Regions from separate parts of the Homo sapiens genome. Here regions 1 and 2 are each linked to region 3. The links are contacts of gene promoters, found by promoter capture Hi-C in human tissues and cell types (Jung and others, 2019). All regions are on one chromosome and are shown on one strand. The core of a region is centred on a gene start or on the middle of the fragment in contact, and the rest is flanking DNA. Distances in the headings are between cores, read along the strand shown. Region 1 holds the start of INF2 (inverted formin 2). Region 2 holds the start of MTA1 (metastasis associated 1). Region 3 holds the start of CDCA4 (cell division cycle associated 4).

Region 1 (2,700 bases), core at 114-2,613, 330 kb after region 3:
CTGGCTTTTAGAACAGAAAATTGCTGCTGCCCTGGTAGGGGTGGGAGCAGTGTGAGGTCTCAGACCCCAGGCCTGGAACCCAATGCTACTATTTGCTGCACTGGGGGCTGAGCACCGACACCCCAAAAGCCCCTGGCTGGGTGGCACCCTCGGGGTCTGAGGCACTGCTCTGGGACCCCACCTTCCCAGTGCAGGGCGGCAGGGAGCAGGTCCCAGCCTGAGCTGCTGTCCCACCCTTCAGAGTGCAGATGTGGAAACTGAGGCCGGAAGAGGGCGAGTATCCTGCTCCATTCCAGTGCCAGACGGAGGGGCAGGGCTGGCAGTAAGGGAATTTCCTACGTCCAGCGCCTTCTGGGTGTGCCTGACCTCTGGCCCGGTTCCTGGGTTCCTGGTTCCCTGCCTGGGCAGGGTCTCTGCCTCTCTGCCTCCTGGTGTGTCCAGCTGGAGTGGGCAGTAATGCTGTGGTCACAGCTGAGCTGCGGGAGCCCTGGGTGGGGAGCTTGAGCCCCAGAAGGCCCAGACAGACAGACCACCCCCCACGCCTGTGCTCCCCAGGGGGCATTGGGGACGGTCAGGGACACAGCTGGTCACCCCGCCTTCCCCTCCTTAGTCATGGTCACTCCTGGGGCGACTCCCCAGTTAGAGGGTTGACGGGTGGGTCTGGGGGCGTACAGGGATTGGATCCTACCCCACCCAAAAGGAACAGAGAGCTGTGATGGAGGCTGATTCCCCTAAGCCTGCCAGCGGTTGCGGGGTGGGAAGGGCTCCCTGTGCGCCCACCTGCGCGTGGGCAGCTGGAAGCCAAGCAGTCAGGGTGGGGCCGCAGGCCGGCGCGCACCTCGGGGTGCCACCCGGGCGGCGGACCCGAAGTTGAAGTTTATTTTCCCAACTGTGGCTGATTCATGGTCAGGATGTGGCAGCCGCGAGGCGCGGAAATCCCGCCTGCCCTGGGAGTAGGCCCGGCCGACCCTGGGCCCACCACTCTGCGGCCAGTGCGCGCTCGGGCGGTGCCTCGGCGCGGAGGACCATAGTCCCGAGCGGGGCGCGCGGAGCCGGGGGGGCCAGGGGCGCCCTGGGGTCCCCGCCCGGGAACTGTACCCTGCGCCGCCGGACCGCCCGCCGCCACCTGGGCACACACGCCGCAGCCCGGAACCTCGCTCCTGGACCCAAGCACGCCCCTGCCTCCTCCCGGACTCAGTTTCCCCTGAAGCTCCAAGCGGACCCCGAGGCCAAGGACTTACCCGGTGAGGCAACGGCCAGAGGGCGGTGGTGCGGCCGGCGCTCCGTCCGGGGCCGGGTCAGGGGCTGCGGGCAGCCGGCGCCCACTGCCGCGCTCCGCAAGGCTCGGACGGTGGCTCCTGGCGGGCGCGGGGCGGGCGGGGCGGGCGGGAGGAAGAGGAGGTGCCGCCCCGCCCGTCAGCGGCCACGTGGGGAGCGAGCGCGGGCCGGGGGCGGGGCCTGGGGGGGGAGGTGGGTGGCTGGGGGTGGCCCCGCCCACTGTGGCCGGTCCCTGAGGGCGCTTTAAGGGGTCTCCCCACTCCCGTGAATAACCTGGCCGCCCCCTCGCGGTCCCTGCTGGCCTGGCTCCTGGTGGGCGGAGATGGGGGTGGGACGCGCAGATCGGGGCCGTCTCCCGCCTCAGCCCCCACTGTCCGCCCCGTCCCTGCCCTCCACCGCCTCCCGTCCACCTACACCCCTATCCTCCGGTGGGACTGGCCTCCCAGGCGCCGCTCACCTCTCTCTGCCCCGGCCCGGGACTCCCGTTCCAGCCAGCCGGATCCGGAGTCCCCGCGTTCGGGGATCCCTCAGCAGAGATGGCTCTTCCCAGGCTTTGGGGAGAGAGAGCCTACCCATCAACCAGGCCACCCATGTGGCCTCCTCTCCGCAGCCCTGCCTGACCCCCTTCCACCCTTGATGGGGTCTCGGCGGTCTTGGGCAGCCGCACTTCGCCGGTTGGTGGAGACAGCTGCATGAGGGCCGCGGAGGTGTCGCAATGGGGTGGGTTTTCTCTGCCACCCCTCTGCTGTCCGGCCTCATCTGTCTCCTAGATTGAGGGGGGCACCCATCCCCCCACCGCCGACATTGACCAGCATGGGGCGTGCCCATAGTCGGCTCTGAAAGCCAGCCTGGTTGGATGAGAGCCAGACCCCAGCTCTGGAAGTCCCTTCTGACGTCTGACCCTCAGTCAGAGCTGCAGGAAGCAGCGCACCAGGCCTGGGGTTTGGGGGCCACTGGCAGCTAGAGGGAGGGCAGAGGAAGGCAGGCCTGGGGGAGCCCCCGTGTGACATGTGACAGAGCAGACACAACCCCTGCCCTGAGAACCGGCGCCAGCACTCCCTGTGCGGCCTCAGGCTCGGATATGACTCTGTGGAGCCTCAGTTTCCCCATCTGTAAAATAGAATAAGTACCCGTAAGGGCTGTATGAGGGTCAAGAACATGCGGATAAAGTGTCTCCACTCGGAGTCCTGACATCTCTCTCCGGAGGGCCTGCTGTGTGGGCCGTGGCGGCCAGGGCTCAGGGTGAGGGCGAGGGGAGAGAAAAGGGCTCCTGAATGGCTTCCCAGCCCCGATGCAGCTTCTGCTTTGAGGCCAGCTGCGTGTCCTTTGGCTTTGGTGTGCCTCCGCTCCGGTGGGGATAAGCGCCGAATTGCAGGCTGCGTCTGTCTGCTCCCTGTGCGGACCTTGCCCTGCCCAGCAGCC
Region 2 (2,700 bases), core at 183-2,682, 400 kb before region 3:
CCTGGCAAAGCTGTATGAGGCTGTGGGAGGGGCTGCCGCTGGATGGGGTACAGGCCCACCGCCCCTCTGAGAGGACAGGGGAGGCCCAGAGCTGCTGATGCGGACTGACCGCCCATCTCACAGACGGGATGTAGGGGGCTCCCACCGTCCCCAAGGTCACAGGACTGGCCGGCCAGACCACACGGCGTCCAAGGCAGCAGAAGCCACGCTCGAGAGACACAGAGTGTTCTGGGCACTCGGGGTCAGGGGCATGGGGATCAAGCCAGAGCGGGAGTGACCCCAGCTCCCTCCAGCAGCGCAGGCTGCAGGTGGGAAAGGTAATGAGCACCTGCCCGAGAGGGTCACAGGCAGGGAGGGGTCTCAGAGTCCTGGGGAGGGAGGCGCTGATGGAATGATGGAATGCACACGACCCCCCACCTTCCTGTGAAAGACCCCACGGAGTCCCAGGCACACGAAGGAGGGCAAGGCTCAAAGCTGCAGGCCCGGGGGGCCCGAGCAACAGGAGGCTGGGCCCACGGAGGAAGCCCCTGCCCAGGAGGCCCTCCGGCCTCTCCCCAACCCTTGCAAAGCGCCTCCCGAATGGGCTGAGGTGAGCGAGAGGCAGGGAAAAGTTTGGGGGGACTTAGAGGCGTGCTCGGGATGCTCGCTCCCTGCTGAAGACCCCCTGAGGGATCCCTGCTGGGGGAAGCCCCGGGGCCAGGCTGCAGGAGGGCTCTAGGGAGGAACGTGGCCCCTCACCGGGGCTCCCCATCCCCAGAGGGGATGCACCGGAGTCCCAGCACAGGGCCGCGGGCCGGGGGAGACCCCACAGCCCCAAAACTCCTGCTCCCAGACCGGCAGCCGGCGCCTCCCAAGGCCACGTGCTCCCGCTGGGGGCTCCCGGCCCCGGACCCCCGGATGTCCCGCAGGCCCCGCGCCCCCCCGCCACCCCCGCGGCCGCCCCCTCGGCCCCAACAGGTGGGCCGCCCCCCACCCCCGGGCCGCCGAGCCCCGCCCGCCCCCGATGGGGCCGACCCGCGGGGCCATTTTGGGTTGGGGTGAGCACGGCGGGGGGCGGTTCGGGAAGGAGCCGGGGGCCGCGAGGGCGGGCGGGGGGCGCGGGGCCTGCGGGGCAGAGGGGCGGGGGAGGCGGCAGCGGCGGCGGGTGGGGGCTGCGGGCGGGTCGGGGCCGGGCATAAAGGCGGTGCGGCCTTACCTCCGACCCTGTACATGTTGGCGGCCATGTCCGGGCCGGCGGCGGCGGAGGGGCCCGGGGCGGGCGCGGCGCTCGGCGCGGGCGGCCGGGAAAATGGAGGCGCGATGGCGGGGGCGGGGGGCGCCGCAGGCGTTTAAAGGGGCCGCGCTGCTGCCGCCGCCGCCGCCGCCGCCGCCGCCGAGGCCGCCGAGGCCGCGCAGGGACGGGAGGGCCGCGGCGCGGGCGGGAGAGGAAGAGGAGGAGCGGCCGCGGGCGGCGGGGAGGGGCCTCGGGCGCCGCCGCCCACCGCACGGGCCGTTACCGACCCCGCGCCGCCCGCGGCCCGCGCGCCCCTTCCCGGACAGTTCCTCTCGGCGCCCCCGAGTCCTCCCCGCGCGCCGCTTCCCGGGTGGGCCCTTCCACCAGAACCCCCTGGTAGATCCTCCCCTGGTGCCCTGGGGGTAGAGGGGAGATCCTCCACAAGGGCCATTTCCCTGGTGATCCCTCCCTGTGCCCCACAGGTGAGTCCTGCCGTAGCTCTCCAGGGGTTCCTCCTGATGCTGGGGTCCTCCGGCATTCCTCCCTGAGCCCCCCAAGGGCCCTGAAGCTCAGCGGCCCAGCCCTGGCCTCGGGGTCCCCACCCCACACCTCCCTTCCAGGCCTAACCTTTGCCCCCGACACCAGGCAGGGCGTGTCCTTGGCCTTCGCCGCCCAGCCCGCGTGGCATCTCTGGACAGGTGGTCGTGCGCGCCTTGGTGTGGGCAGGCTCCGTAGCCGGCAAAGCCTCCCTGAACCGTGACCTGGTGAGAAGGCCGCAGAGGAGGTGCCTGTGCCCAGAGGCCACCTCCAAAGACCCCACCTGAGGCTGGAACCCAGCGCCTGCTGACCCCGCCAGCCCCAACAGGGCTGGAGTCCAGGAGCGGCCGTGCTCTTTCCGCAGTGAGGCAGCTGCCTTCTCTTCCCACCACCTGTCAGGATGCCTTCCCGTGTGTGCTTGTGCACAGGTCTAAGGAGAGGAGAGTCCAGTGAGTGACCCAGACGCCCCAGCCAGGAAGAGCATGAGGTGCGAAGGGGGCTTCCCAGATGGAGAGAAACAGATGGTCCCAGAGTGGCTTGGAGACAGGTGCAACATCAGTGTTGGGGGAGGTGAGCAAAAGGAGCTGTCTCGGGGTTCCAGGCTGCTGATGTGAGCAGCACCGTGGGTCTCTGTCCTGCCTGCTCAGATGCTGGAGGGAGCTGACATCTACTTGGGACATCCCTCTCTGTAGGACATGGAGCGGAGCGTTCAGGGCTATCAGGAGGGAGCCCCGTGGCCACGGTGCAAGATCTAGGCAGGCGGGACAGACATGGTCAGGATGCTGGGGACACAGCATGGGGAATCCAGCACACAGGACACCATCCAGGTGGGTAGGAAACAGCATGTGCTGGGAGGAAAGCCAGGTGGGGGTCCCAAGGAGAGCGGTGGCCACAATGTCATGGCTGCAGAGCAGACCAGTAAGGAAAGCCCCACCAGGGTTAGCACAGGG
Region 3 (2,700 bases), core at 93-2,592:
AGGAGTTGGAGACCAGCCTGTGTAACAAGACAATACCCTGTCTCTACAAAATTACCAAAAAAAAAAAAAAAGTTAGCTTGGTGTAGTGGCACACTTCTGTAGTCCCAGCTACTTGGGAGGCTGAGGCGTGAGAATCACTCGAGCACAAGAGTTCGAGGATACAGTGAGCCATAATCACGCCACTGTTGTCCAGCCTGGGCGAAAGAGACCCCCTTTTTTTTTTTTTTAAATAAGAACAGTGATTCTTTTCAAGCACAATTCAGATTCCAGTTCCTTCTCTGCTGACCATGCCAGTAGTCTCCATCCCACTCCCAGAATAGCCCAAAAGTCCCTCCACCCCTCACACTTAAAACTTTCCCACGAGATCACAGGGTTCTTTCTCACTGCACTGAGACGTGCTCCTGCCTCCTGCCCCTGCCTCGGGCTTTGCCCCAGCCATTCCTCTCCTGAATTCTCGTCCACTCTTCCTTTTGGTGCTTTAAGACGCTCCTTATCCTAGAGACCTATGTGAGCAGCGCCCCCACGTCACTCCCAGGTTTCCCGACAGCATTTCAGCATTTACCACCGACCTTGGCGCATCCGCACCTGCGGATTGATCTGAGGATTCCCCCCCAACTTCCAGCACTTGGCTCTCAGCTGCAGCCACGCCTGCCGGGCCTGCTGCAGGCGCTCAGGGTATTACTTAAGTCAATGATTGCAGGTTCTCGCATCCTATTTAAAACCTTTTCCACTAAGAGATTTAAAACACGTGTCCCCTGCTTTGAACTTTCACGTTACATTTCTTACGTGTAAACCTAGGAAGCCTTTGGAGATAACCCCGGTCTCTGGAGAGGCTTGGATAGACCTCGGAGCCCAGACCGCCCGGGAATTGCCGTGCCCGGCTCCTCCCGACCCCGGCACGGATGCCTCGGCGGAGAAGTTGAGCCAGGCAGAAGCGAGAGAGTCCAAACCTCTGTTTGCCCCGCCACGCCCGCCCGAGGGCCCCACGTGGGCCCCAGGCGCAGGCGCGTTCAGTTCAGGGCCAGACGCGCGGAGACCTGGGAGCTGGCGGGGCGGGGCCGGACTGGGCGCGGGGAGACCTGGGAGCCGGCGGGGCGTGGGCGTGGCGGGGCCGGGCGCAGGGGCGGGGGCGGGGCAACCGAGGGCGCGCGCGAGCCCCAACGGCCGTCGCCGCAGCGCGGGAAGACGCGCCACAGATGCCCCGCCCGCGTGGGTTTGAACAAGAGGCCCCGCCCCCGGCCCGCGAGTGGCCAATCAGCGGGCGTAGCGCGCGGAGAGCGCAGCGTCGACCCTTTGTGGACGCCGAGTGGCGGTCGCTCGCCCCGCCCCGCGCCGTCGGGCGCTCCTTCCTCAGCGGCGGGAAGCTGGCGGCAGCGGCGGTGGCGGTGGCTGAGCAGAGGACCCGGCGGGCGGCCTCGCGGGTCAGGTGAGCGGGCCCGGCGGACCGCTAGGGCGTCTACGGCGGCGTGCACTTTTGTGCTGCAGGGCGCGGAGGAGCCTGGGGGCGGTGCGCGGAGTCTGTGGCTCCTGGCGCTGGGTCCGGGGCGGAGGCGGCGCCCGGGACCACCGCTGGGGCTGCCGCGGCGCCCTCGCCGCCCTCCTGGGCGCTGGTTCCCCCGCGGGGTGGCCGCTGCTGAGGGGGCCCGGGGAACAGAGGGGCCCGGGCCGCCGTCTGCGTTCCTTGCGGAGCGCGGAGCTGGGGCTTTGCCGAGGCCTGCGGGCGGCCCCACGCGGGAGCCGCTTCACGAGGGCCCGGCTGGGGTACGCAGCGGCGTTTCCCGTACCTCGGCTCTAGTTGCAGCGGAGGGAACGCCAGGCGCGCCGCAGCCCCCTCTGTCGGAGCCCGGCCGCGGAGAGGGCCGCGGATGTGGGAGGAGGCCCAGACCCCGGGCGGGTCGGCCAGCGCCGTCTTCCCTGGGCTCCTCCGGCGGTGCGAGGTGGGACTAGGGAAAGTCCCCGAGACACTTGCAGAAGTCAGACGCAAGCCTCCCTCCGCGTCTTCAGACGCTTCTCGCCCCGCAAACAGGATCGTCGTGGCAAAGGCTCCGACAGCTTGCTGGAATAGAGGGTCTCCGCTGCCTCGCTTCTCCTGTGGCCTTCGTGTGGGACGCACGGGACGGCGGGACCCAGATAACCGTTCTCTCAAAGCGAGCCACAGAAAAACATTGCCTGTTCACAAAACTTACGTTTTATCAACTTTCTACGTACAACCACTCTATTTTCAAGTGTCACCGTGTTTTATAATTAGGGTGGAAATCCAGAATACAAAGTGAGTTACACCCCTTTTCTAGGAAGAGTAGTAGGCTGTATCTTGGAAAAGGGGCTAGGAAGTTTCCCTCAACTTGCCACTGGAACATGTTTTCAGGGAAAAGAAGGAGTGTGTTTCGTTCCAAGTAACAAAAGTACCTGCAATTGGCTGGGCGCGGTAGCTCACACCTCCCAGCACTTTGAGAGGAGGCCTAGGCGGGTGGATCTCCTGAGGTCCCGAGTTCGAGACTAGCTGGCCAACGTGGTGAAACCCCGTCTGTACTAAAAATACAAAAATTAGCTGGGCGTGATGGCGCATGCCTGTAATCATAATCCTAGCTATGTGGGAGGCTGAGGCAGGAGAATCGCTTGAACCAGAAAGGCAGAGGTCTCAGCCGAGATCGTGCCATTGCACTCCAGCCTGGGCGACAGAGCGAGACTCCGTCTCAAAAA

Evidence for each region. Contacts are between HindIII fragments. The study calls those that stand out against the background at their distance.
Region 1: a contact is called between the fragment with the promoter of INF2 here and the fragment with the promoter of CDCA4 in region 3, in 1 of the 25 tissues and cell types used here (liver).
Region 2: the fragment with the promoter of MTA1 here is called in contact with the fragment with the promoter of CDCA4 in region 3 in 2 of the 25 tissues and cell types used here (dorsolateral prefrontal cortex and liver).

Annotation. Positions count from the first base shown.
Region 1 is chr14:104,688,281-104,690,980 of GRCh38, reverse strand. It overlaps INF2 (inverted formin 2), which reads right to left and starts at 1,363. Exons shown (of 23, transcript NM_022489.4): 1 at 1,242-1,363. RefSeq lists silencers at 850-899, 990-1,229, 1,250-1,339, 1,440-1,699 and enhancers at 1,392-2,381, 2,382-2,700. The HindIII fragment of the contact is 30,363 bases long and covers 1-2,700 here.
Region 2 is chr14:105,418,559-105,421,258 of GRCh38, reverse strand. MTA1 (metastasis associated 1) reads right to left here and starts at 1,432. Exons shown (of 21, transcript NM_004689.4): 1 at 1,196-1,432. The coding sequence starts at 1,223. MTA1-DT (MTA1 divergent transcript) reads left to right here and starts at 1,520. Exons shown (of 2, transcript NR_125385.1): 1 at 1,520-2,237. RefSeq lists silencers at 1,339-1,598, 1,689-1,738, 1,769-1,868 and an enhancer at 2,566-2,700. The HindIII fragment of the contact is 32,458 bases long and covers 1-2,700 here.
Region 3 is chr14:105,019,725-105,022,424 of GRCh38, reverse strand. It overlaps CDCA4 (cell division cycle associated 4), which reads left to right and starts at 1,342. Exons shown (of 2, transcript NM_017955.4): 1 at 1,342-1,426. RefSeq lists enhancers at 547-606, 622-1,135, 1,650-2,165, 2,617-2,700 and silencers at 907-976, 1,007-1,896, 1,907-1,996. The HindIII fragment of the contact is 13,458 bases long and covers 1-2,700 here.